Regions from separate parts of the Homo sapiens genome. Here all the other regions are linked to region 1. The links are contacts of gene promoters, found by promoter capture Hi-C in human tissues and cell types (Jung and others, 2019). All regions are on one chromosome and are shown on one strand. Each heading gives the region's core, a stretch centred on a gene start or on the middle of the fragment in contact. The rest is flanking DNA. Distances are from core to core; before and after follow the strand shown. Region 1 holds the start of MATN2 (matrilin 2). Region 2 overlaps LAPTM4B (lysosomal protein transmembrane 4 beta). Region 3 overlaps MATN2 (matrilin 2).

The links. The method cuts DNA at HindIII sites, captures the fragments that hold promoters and counts their contacts. A contact is called where the count stands out against the background at its distance.
Region 2: a contact is called between a fragment that was not itself captured here and the fragment with the promoter of MATN2 in region 1, in 2 of the 25 tissues and cell types used here (aorta and spleen).
Region 3: a contact is called between a fragment that was not itself captured here and the fragment with the promoter of MATN2 in region 1, in 2 of the 25 tissues and cell types used here (bladder and mesenchymal stem cells).

What each region holds. Positions count from the first base shown.
Region 1 is chr8:97,867,508-97,870,995 of GRCh38, reverse strand. It overlaps MATN2 (matrilin 2), which reads right to left and starts at 1,932. Exons shown (of 19, transcript NM_002380.5): 1 at 1,709-1,932. RefSeq lists an enhancer at 2,332-2,831. The HindIII fragment of the contact is 19,586 bases long and covers 1-3,488 here.
Region 2 is chr8:97,816,874-97,820,361 of GRCh38, reverse strand. LAPTM4B (lysosomal protein transmembrane 4 beta) reads right to left here. Exons shown (of 7, transcript NM_018407.6): 5 at 1,124-1,222. Among named protein-coding and RNA genes, the nearest start is that of LAPTM4B, 43 kb to the right of the region's middle. The HindIII fragment of the contact is 7,378 bases long and covers 1-3,488 here.
Region 3 is chr8:97,912,011-97,915,498 of GRCh38, reverse strand. All of the region lies in intron 2 of MATN2 (matrilin 2), which reads right to left. Among named protein-coding and RNA genes, the nearest start is that of MATN2, 45 kb to the right of the region's middle. The HindIII fragment of the contact is 4,576 bases long and covers 1-3,488 here.

The DNA.
Region 1 (3,488 bases), core at 683-3,182:
TTATAGAAGACAGTGTCCTGGTAACTCGGGGGCCTGAGATTGAATTCTATTGGCAGAAATAAAAGTAAAAAGTGTGGACAGATAGGAAAATGCAAGGTGAAGAGCCATAAGTATCTCATTCTCCACAGAGGATTCTAAGTGCCAAGTTTCAGGGACTGAGAGGAAACATTCCAGGTCATAAACCCATGTTGGTATTTTGACATGGTTTTATGAGGTTGGCCCTTTGGGAGCAAGCAGGGAGAACTGCGCCCGTGTGGACTCCTGCATGGAACTACCAGTTGCATACACGTGGCTTATCTGCCACCCTCACGTACCCATGGAGAGCCTCTCTTTCTGAACTGGGGAAGAGGTACATTCACTGCTCATAGCAGCTCCTTGCTATTTCTGCAAAGACAAGCCATGGAACTCACCTAATCTTAGAATGCTCCTGGAAATGTTCTAAGGACTTTACTTGCCATATCTTTTTTTTTTTCTTTTGAGACGGAGTTTAGCTCTTGTTGCCCAGGCTGGAGTGCAATGGCACCATCTCCGCTCACTGCAATCTCTGCCTCCTGGGTTCAACCGATTCTCCTGCCTCAACCTCCCGAGTAGCTGGGATTACAGGCATGCGCCACCAAGTCCGGCTAATTTTGTATTTTTAGTAGAGACGGGGTTTCTCCATGTTGGTCAGGCTGGTCTCGAACTCCCGACCTCAGGTGATCCGCCCGCCCCGGCTTCCCAAAGTGCTGGGATGACAGCCCTGAGCCACCGTGCCCGGCCGCCATATCTCATTTAATCCTCACAGTTCTGTGGGTATTACCATCCTCATTAGACAGATGAGGAAACTGAGGCATACTTGGGTACCTTCAAGTTATCAACCCTGTAAACTTCACAGCTGGGGTTGAAACCCAAGCAGGCTGACCCCAGTCTCTGCTCTCGACCACGGGTCCCTGAAGTCTCTTGACTGCCCCATTCCTTAAAGGCCGATTTTAAGTGTGCTTGGTGCAGATGCATTGTGGCTTCCTGATTTATGACAAATTGAAACTTGGTCAATTGGGTTTGTTCAGGGTGGGCGCGAGTGTCCCTGAGGAGAGCACTTTCCTGTGCCCCCAGTCCTGGAGACCCTACCAGGGACAGTCCCCATTTCTCTGTCCTCTCCCCAAACGGCTCCAAATTGTTCTGGGGTTTCTAGCAACTACCACAAAATGCCTTCCCCTTTCTCTCCCTCTTCCACAATATAGGGAAGCTGGAGGTTTAGCTGCCATAGAGACCCAAGAACAAAATCCAGATGACACGGGCATGAAAATACCAGGTTCCGAAGAGGGAAGGGGGAGCCATCGGCTGTCCGTGGAATAGGAATCACCCTGCATACCCGCTCAACAGGTCTCCCTTTCCCTGGGTCGCGGTGGCCGGGGTCTGGGCGTCCCCGCTGCGTGCCACAGCGCCCCCACGGGGCACTCCGGGGCGGCTGCAGCGCGGCTTGTCCTGCGCAGGGAGCGCGCCCAGCTCTCCCGGCCGAGGGGTCGGGCAGCGCCGCCCTCCCTCTCCCCCTGTCCTCGGAGGGGTCGAAGGCGCCGGGGCCCCGGGGCGCTGGGGGCTGCAGTGCGGGCCTGGGGAGGGCGCCTGCGCGTCGGGCAGCCCAGGCTCGGTATTCTGTCGGTGGGTCGGTCCGCCTGCACTTCGAGGCCGCCCGGCCGCGCAGAGCCGGGGGAAAGCGCGCCGCGCTCACCTGCAGCCGCCGGCGCCTGGGAAGCGAGGCAGGGGCGCAGCCACCCGGGTCTTCCTCGTCGGCCTCTTCGCCTCGCCGAGGGCCGCGGCTCTCCTCGGGGATCGCTCGTGGGAGGCGAGGACGGAGCCCCAGCTTCTGCCTCTGCCTCTGTCTCCGCCGCCGCCGCTTGCTCCAAGTCCCATCCCAGAGCGCTCCCTTCGCTCGCTGGCTGCCTGGGAGGCGCTGGGCAAGGGCGGGCGGCTGGGGAGGCGGTGCCGCGGCGGGGGTGGGGAGCGGGCCGGGCGGAAGGAGGGGTGTCCTCTTTGGGGATGGGGAAGGCGCGGAGAGGGAGCGGCGGCGAGGGCGGCCCCACCCTGTGGGCAGCCCCGGGAGCTGGGCACTCTGGCGGCGCGCCCTGCCTGCTGCCACCTGGCTCCACTCCGTCCGTGCCTGAGCCCAGGCGGGCATCAGACTCCAGGGGTCCGGAGCCGCAGGCACGGAACACAGGCAGCTTTAGGGGCCTGTCGGGTTGGGAGTGCGGGGAGGGGTCTTCTGGGGGAAAGGAGACATGGCAGGAATCTTACATCTAGAACTTGGGGTCATGACCTGCGGGACGCACCCACTGACGCGGGGATGGAGAAAAAAGTGGTGAGAATTGGGCTAATTGATGACAAGCGCCAAGAGCTGTCTTGCCAGTGCCCAGAGCACCCCACCAGTGCCAGTTCATATTAACAGAGCGTCCACTGGCTGGGGACCAGGCCCCGGGATGGGGAGGAGGTAAAGATGCCAGGATGGAGAGGAGACAAAATTCCTACCCCGAGGGAGCAGGGAAAGTCTAGTTCAGACAAGACTTTTGAAATTATGAGCAGAGACATTTGCAACTTTGCAGAATGGAGGAACCTCACCTTGGATGTCCCCATGGAGCCTTGGAGGGATGCAGAAGACAGGATTGGCCAGCGACAGTCAAAGTGGCCGGCACCCCCCTCTACCAGCTCCCCAGTTCCTGGAGGCTGGGGTGAGTGGATGTATAACAGACCAGGACATCTCCTATAAAGCTCCAAAATTCTGTTCCCAAACCACTAGCCAACGCACCCAGTTCAGGTTTTGTGTTTTTGTTTGTTTGTTTGTTTTTTGAGACGGAGTCGCCCAGGCTGGAGTGCAGTGGCGCAATCTTGGCTTACTGCAAGCTCTGCCTCCCGGATTCACGCCATTCTCCTGCCTCAGAGTAGCTGGGACTACAGGCTCCCGCCACCACGGCCGGCTAATTTTTTTTGTATTTTCAGTAGAGACGGGGTTTCACCGTGTTAGCCAGGATGGTGTCGATCTCCTGACCTCGTGATCCGCCCGCCTCGGCCTCCCAAAGTGCTGGGATTACAGGCGTGAGCCACTGCGCCCGGCCCCAGTTCAGGTTTTAACAAGCTACCAGCAGAGGCAGCAGCACTAACTAGTTTCAAAACCTCTGGATGTGCCACAGTCTGATAATTTGGTGCTTTGGGCGGACTTTGTTTTGTAATTAACCATCATTCCTATTTGATGATAGAGTTGATTTCTGAAATATGAATAAACGCCAAAATCAATTCTTCAGAAAAGCTCCAGGAGGGGTAATTAAAATTCCAGCCATGAAGCAAGGGGTTAACATACTCGAGCCATCAGGCAAGTCAATGATACCTTAATACCAAGAAAGAATTGTGGATTCCTGTTCCTTTACCCAGTACCTTAGGCCCACTGGGCACTCTTGGCTGCCTGCACTGATCACAAATAGTTTTTTTGTTATGTCTTTGGGAGGAGGTAGGTGGAGGTC
Region 2 (3,488 bases), core at 566-3,065, 51 kb after region 1:
AGGCAGGAGGCAGCCTAGACTACAGGGAGAGACCCTACCTCAAAAAAAAAAAAAAAAGAAAGAAAGAAAAATAAATAAAAAAAGAAAAAAGTTGAAAGCATAAAGAGCCATGAGAGTTTTCTACCCATTAGTAGCTCATAAGCACAAGTTATAATGATGGTTTTATAAACAGATTGACCAAGATGAAAAAGAATTTGCAGCAATTGATTGATAAGGGTGAGGCACTGCTGCAGGAAGTAGAAGTCATTTAACTTTGGGGGACATCAATTTGACAACCTATCAAAGGCTTTCCAACCATGAACACCCTGATTTTAAGAAATTTATCTTGAAGCCGGGCACAGTGGCTCATGCCTGTAATCCCAGCTTTGGGAGGCCGAGGTGGGCGGATCATGAGGTCAGGAGATCGAGACCATCCTGGCTAACACAGTGAAACCCCATCTCTACTAAAAATACAAAAAAATTTGCTGGGCATGGTGGCGGGTATCTGTGGTCCCACCTACTGGGGAGGCTGAGGCAAGATAATGGCGTGAAGCCGGGAGGCGAAGCTCGCAGTAAGCCGAGGTTGCGCCACTGCACTCCAACCTGGGCGACAGAGCGAGACTCCATCTCAAAAAAAAAAAAAAAAAAAAAAAAAGGAAATTTATCTTGAGATAAATGCATAAATATAAGGATGTACTTAAATATATTCACTACAGCCCTATTAAGTGAAAAAGTAAAAAATGTCTCAATGCTCATCAAGTAATTTATTAAATAATGATATTCATATAATGGATTGAGATAGAACAATATTCAGAAAATATTACACTTTTAGCAAAAAATTACAAAAGAATATCCATTACACAGACCTTGTAACAGACGTTGCAATATCATATACTATGTAATGTATAACATTATGTTAACTTATCTCTGTCCAAATATATTTTGGACTCCTTGATCAAACTGTGGAATTTTGATTAGTGTTTACCTCCAACATAGACAGCATAAAGAATTGTAATCTTAGGAAATCAAAAAGCAATTTGGATGTCCAAAGAAAGACAATAAACTGACCAAAGTTTGTTTACTTATTTGGTATTCAGGAATACACTTAATATTTTTAGACTATAAGTAAAATCTTCATGCTTACCTTAAAAGTCAAGATAATGCTAATAAACAGAAGAATAATAAGGACCAAACAGGTAGGATTCACTGACATGACATCATCTCTGTAGGGAAAATTAGGAGGCTGCAAAAGAAAAGGGCCTCATTAGCAAATCTCATTAATCATTCCAGACAGTATTCCTTGGGCACCAATTCAGACATGCTTATCAGAAAGCAACTGATTAAAGCAGACAGCTATTATTTAGAACCAATACAAAATTTCTAGCCTGACTCTGCCCTCTTACCATATAAAAGACGTCAGTGATCGGTATCCAGGGACATTTTGTATATCCAGGGATCTCTGAAATTTGTATTCTCTGCAAGTTCTGAACCATTCCTTTTTTTTTTTTTTTTCTTTTTTGAGATGGAGTTTCTCTCTGTCGCCCAGCTCAGCTACTTGGGAGGCTGGGGTGAGCAAATCACTTGAGCCCTGGTGGTGGAGGTTGCAGTGAGCGAGATCATGCCACTGCACTCCAGCCGCCCGGGCGACAGAGCCAGACCATGTCTCAAAAGTTCTGAACCATTCTAAAGGGCATATGCAGGGCAAGGGACAGAAACCTACTAAAATGAGGTCTTCTTTGCAAAGAGCATTTTTGTTGATGGTACTTCTCCCAAGACAGCATATTCTCTTATACTAGCAAGTACTTCCAGGGTGGGGGGAAATAATCAAGCACTACCATCCACAATGCTTAACAACCAGGTCAAAGGGAACCTTTTCAGGAGGATCAAAGTCTGCTACTATGGTTAGAGGGAGTTGCCGGACTTTCCCCACAGAACACTCACACAGCATTGATCAACGCCTACATCACTGGCCTAGGCAAGTGAATGGGAAGGCAGCCTACTGTGCTATCTCATCTTTTATCTCCCTTCACCATTCAACACTATGTGTTTGGATTCCTCACGAGCAATATTCCAAAACAAAGTTGTTTCCAATGTTGAGGAAGAACATGGAGAAGGCCCATGACTCATGGGCTTGGCTCCTGCTCACCAGGGTGAACACCACCTAATGGTTTTCAGTCTCCTTTCACTTGGGACAAAATATCTAAGAAATAAAATCGTCATTCTTTGTGATCAGATCATGCAACTTTACTCTTTTATTAATAAAATAACTTGGCCAAGCACAGTGGCTCATGCCTGTAATTTCAGCACTTTGGGAGGCTGAGGCAGGCAGATTGCTTGAGTGCAGGTGTTTGAGACCAGCCTGGACAACATAGTCAAACCCCATCTCTACTAAAAATACAAATTTAGCCGGGCATGGTGGTGCATGTCTGTAGTCCAAACTACTTGGGAGGCTAAGGTGGAAGGATCACTTGAGCCCAGAAGATTGAGGTTGCAGGCTGGGCATGGTGGCTCACGCCTGTAATCTCAGCACTTTGGGAGGCCAAGGTGGGCGGATCACCTGAGGTCAGGAGTTCGAGACCAGCCTGGTCAACATGGCAAAACCCCACCTCTACTAAAAAAAAAATACAAAAATTAGCCAGGCATGGTAGTGGGCGCCTGTATTCCTAGCACTCTGGGAGGCCGATGAGGGTGGATCCTCTGAGGCTAAATGTTTGAGACCAGCCTGGAAAAGATGGTGAAACCCCATCTCTACTAAAAATACAAAAAATTAGCCAGGCTTGGTAGCGGGTGCCTGTAATCCCAGCTACTCAGGAGACTGAGGCAGGAGAATGGCTTGAACCCAGGGAGGCGGAGGTTGCAGTGAGCCGAGATCACAACACTGCACTCCAGCCTAGGTGATAGAGTGAGACTCTGTCTCAAAAAAAAAAAAAAAAAAAAGTAAAGTTGGCCTGGTACAGTGAGTCACATCTATAATGCCAGCACTTTGGGAGGCCAAGGCTGGAGGATCACTTGAGTCTAGGAGTTTGAGACAAGCCTGGGCAACATGGTGAAACCCCATCTCTACATAAGATACAAAAAGAAAAATTAGGTGGGCATGGTGGTGCATGCCTATAGTGCCAGCTACTCAAGAGGTTGAGATGGGAGGATCACGGGAGCCTGGGAGGTCAACGCTGCAGCAAGCCATAATCACACCACTGCACTCCAGCCTGGGTGACAGAGACCCTGTCCCAAAAATAAATAAAGTTATTCCAACCTCATAGCCATTATAAGCTTCTTAATACCCTGCCACCAATATTCACTCATATGGTCACAAAGGACATTTAACCGTAAACTAGTCCCAAAATGATGCTTGAGAAAGGGATTCTATGGTCAAACAAATTTGGGAGCTAGTATACAGCAGTGTTCCACTTTCTTTCCACTTTCTTTTGATTTTTCTTTTTTTTTAGATGAGATCTCACTCTATTGCCCAGGCTGGAGTGCAGTGGCGTGATCTTGGCTCACTGCAGCCT
Region 3 (3,488 bases), core at 500-2,999, 45 kb before region 1:
CCACAGCCCTGTGCCAGCAAAGGCAAAGTTTGTCTTCGGAGACAATTCTATCATCATTTTGGTTTGGTTGAGTTGTACAAACATTGCAGGAATCCCCTCTTTGTGCTGGGTGCTAGGGATAGAGTATGAGAACCAGTCTCAGCCTGGGAGGAGCTTACAACCCTGTAGAGAAGACAGATTCATTAAGATTCATAAAAAATATGAGCAGGCCAGGCACGATGGCTCACACCTATAGTCCCAGCACTTTGGGTGGCTAAGGCAGGAGGACTGCCTGAGCCCAGCAGTTAGAGACCAGCCTGGGCAACATGGTGATACCACATCACTACAAAAAAAAAAGTTTTTTCACAAGCCAAGCATGATGGCGTGCGCCTGTAGTCCCAGTTACTTGGGAGGCTGAGGCGGGAGGATCGCTTGAGCCCAAGAGGTCAAGGTTGCCGTGAGCTATGATTACACCACTGCACTTTATCCTGGGCAACAGAGAGAGACTCTGTCTCTAAAAACAAAAAACAAAGCAACAACAAAAAAGGACGAGTGACTAGAGCCTGGAGTAGATCACCAGTCCCAAGATAGGGGGTGGGGGAAGATCCCTGGACAAGGTGATGAGTATTATAATAGGATGATGTTATTATAAGGTGAGCAGGTGTTGACCAGGCAACAAGCTGGGGTGTGCATTTAGGTAAAAGGGCAGCGTATGCAAAAGCTGGAGGCCAGAACAGAGTGGGATGCACACGCACCCAGGTAACCACAGGTGATGTGGCAAGGCTGGGTCCTAAAGGACAAGTTGGGGAAGACAGGGCCATGTGGGTGGACGGCATGTGCCTCCTGCATAAGAAGTCTGGACTTCAGGCAGGGCACAGTGGCTCACACATGTAATCTCAGCACTTTGGGAGGCTGAGGCAAGAGGATCACTTGAGCTCAGGAGTTTGAGACCCCCTCTCTACAATAGATTAAAAAAAAAAAAGTAGCCGGGTGTAATGGTGCAGGCCTGTAGTCCTCGCTACATGGGAGGCTGAAGCAGGAGGATGGCTTGAGCCCTGGAGGGTGAGGATGCAGTAAGCCATTATTGTGCCACTGCTCTCCAGCTTGGGCCACAGAGCAAGACCCTGTTCCAAAAAAAAAAAAAAAAAAAAAAAAAAAAAAGGTCTGGATTTTATTAGGACAAACGAGGAGCACTGAAGGGTTTTAGATGTGCCCTTCCTATTTTAGGCTTATTCTAAGGGTTCCTGACAGCCCAGACTTCAGTCTTCTCCATCTATGGCCCAGCCCAAAGCCAATCTCTCCAGGCCTGACCCCCAACCCTGCTTCCCCTCCCATCCAAGCTCCCAGCCTACTCTTGGGTGTAAATTAATGTTTCCTTATGTATATACTAATAGAGAAGGCACCAGAGAGAATGTTAAGGCCACTCCTTTGTCTCTGGGAGTTGAGTTTCTGCCCCTCTGTTATCTAACCCTGGACTTAATCCCAAAGGACTTTCAGATGGTGGAGCAAATAGTTTAGGTCAACGATGGGCCCTTTCAACTCATCTCTATTTGGTGTTCAACTCCTCTACCTATTTAATCCAAATTTCAAATGAAATAAATATCAGGCTGAGCAAGGTGGCCCATGCCTGTAATCCCAGCACTTTAGAAGGCCAAGGCGGGCGGATCGGCTGAGGTCAGGAGTTCGAGGCCAGCCTGGCCAACATGGCAAAACCCCATCTGTACTAAGAATACAAACATTAGCTGGGCGTGGTGGCACGTGCCTGTAGTCCCAGCTACTTGGTAGACTAAGGCAGGAGAATTGCTTGAACCCGGGAGGCAGAGGTTGCAGTGAGCCGAGATTGTACCACTGCAATCCAGCCTGGGCGACACAGTGAGACTCCATCTCAAAAAAAAAAAAAAAAATGGCAGGGTGCAGTGGCATATACCTGTAATCCTAGCACTCTGAGAGGCCGAGGAAGGCAGATCACCTGAGGTCAGGAGTTCAAGACCAGCCTGGCCAACATGGCGAAACCCCGTCTCTACTAAAAATACAAAATTTAGCTGGGTGTGGTGGTGTGCACCTGTAATCCCAGCTACTTGGGAGGCTGAGGCAAGAGAATCACTTGAACCCGGGAGGCAGAGGCTGCAGTGAGCCAAGATCGTGCCACTGCACTCCAACCTAGGCAACAAAGCAAGACTCCATCTCAAAAAAAAAAAAAAAAAATCGATTGCTGTCCATGTCCATTGGCACTTGGCATGAACTCCCAACTCTCCCCATGAGTCTTCCAGCGTTGCAGAAGCTAAAAGGACAAAACAAATATTTCCCAGACTATCTTTCAGGCAGCTAGGGTTCTGGGTAAGAATTGGGGAACCCCAATTCAATATATTCACAAAGGATGAAGTGGGGTGGATGGTGGCTCTGCCAGCAAGCAAGGTTTTAGAAAGCCAGTTAGTTGCGGCAGCCAGACTTCGTGTTCTGGTGTCTGCTCAGCAGCTGCACAGACGTCAGTTCTGGTGGCAGCACCATCCTGATCCCAGTGAGGTGCTCTTGCGTGGTGGTCCCTGGGCTCCCACTCCTCCAGCCCTTCCAACAACTATATAACCGAATTCCCCGTGTTAAATCTTTTTCTTCCTGAAATACCTAGAGAGCTCTGTTTCCTGCACTGGCCCTGGTGGCTCCGTCAGCCTCAGCATATCTGCCTCTGTCATCCTCAGCATCTTGGCCTCTTTGATGCCTCACTCACGTATCACCCCCACTCTCTACTGAGGTCGGCAAACGGGGTGGAACAGAAAAGGCAACCAGGCATGCTCAGTCCTCTTCACAAAGCTGACCTGAAGGCCTAGTCACCCAAGGTTGGGGAAAGCAGAGCTGCCCCTCCTCCCCACCCCTACGTCTCTGCAGGCCCACCCTCATCTTCTGCAGAGACTCCCCTAGACACAGACTTGTACTCATCCTCCAATTTGCTTGGAAACTCTGTACACTTTGATACAATGCTTCATTTCCTCCATTCTTACTTGGCAGAAGTCGTAACTCCCTAAACACACTGGGACAGTATATTACACAAAAGGAAAACTATTGAGCCAACGATTTGTTTCCTCAGCGCTCTCAGCGCTTCAATGCCCGGCTCCAGCTGCTCTCGCTGACTCCGTTAAGCTTAACGCCCTATGTTAGGGTTGCTATGGAAGCCAGAAATAACATTTCAGGAATCTCTCACAGGCTTGGTGACTTGGTTTCTAGGCTCTTCTGCAAATAGTCTTTCTTGTAGATGATCATTAAGATGAAGACAAGTTAAAAAGACAGCAGTTTTAATGAAGTGGAATGGTATTTATTCAAGACCCGATAATAGAAAAGCATTTAGGGTCTGCAAATTTGAAGGCTGAAAAAGGACTTGAACGACTGGATTCAATTTCCCTGTTACATAAAGGGAGAAGCAGGTCGTGCAGTGTAACGGGGCAGCAGCCTCCTGCCCATGTCTCCCACACCACACTCATTCTCCACCCTGGGCAAGTGGCTTTATCCCTCTCTCC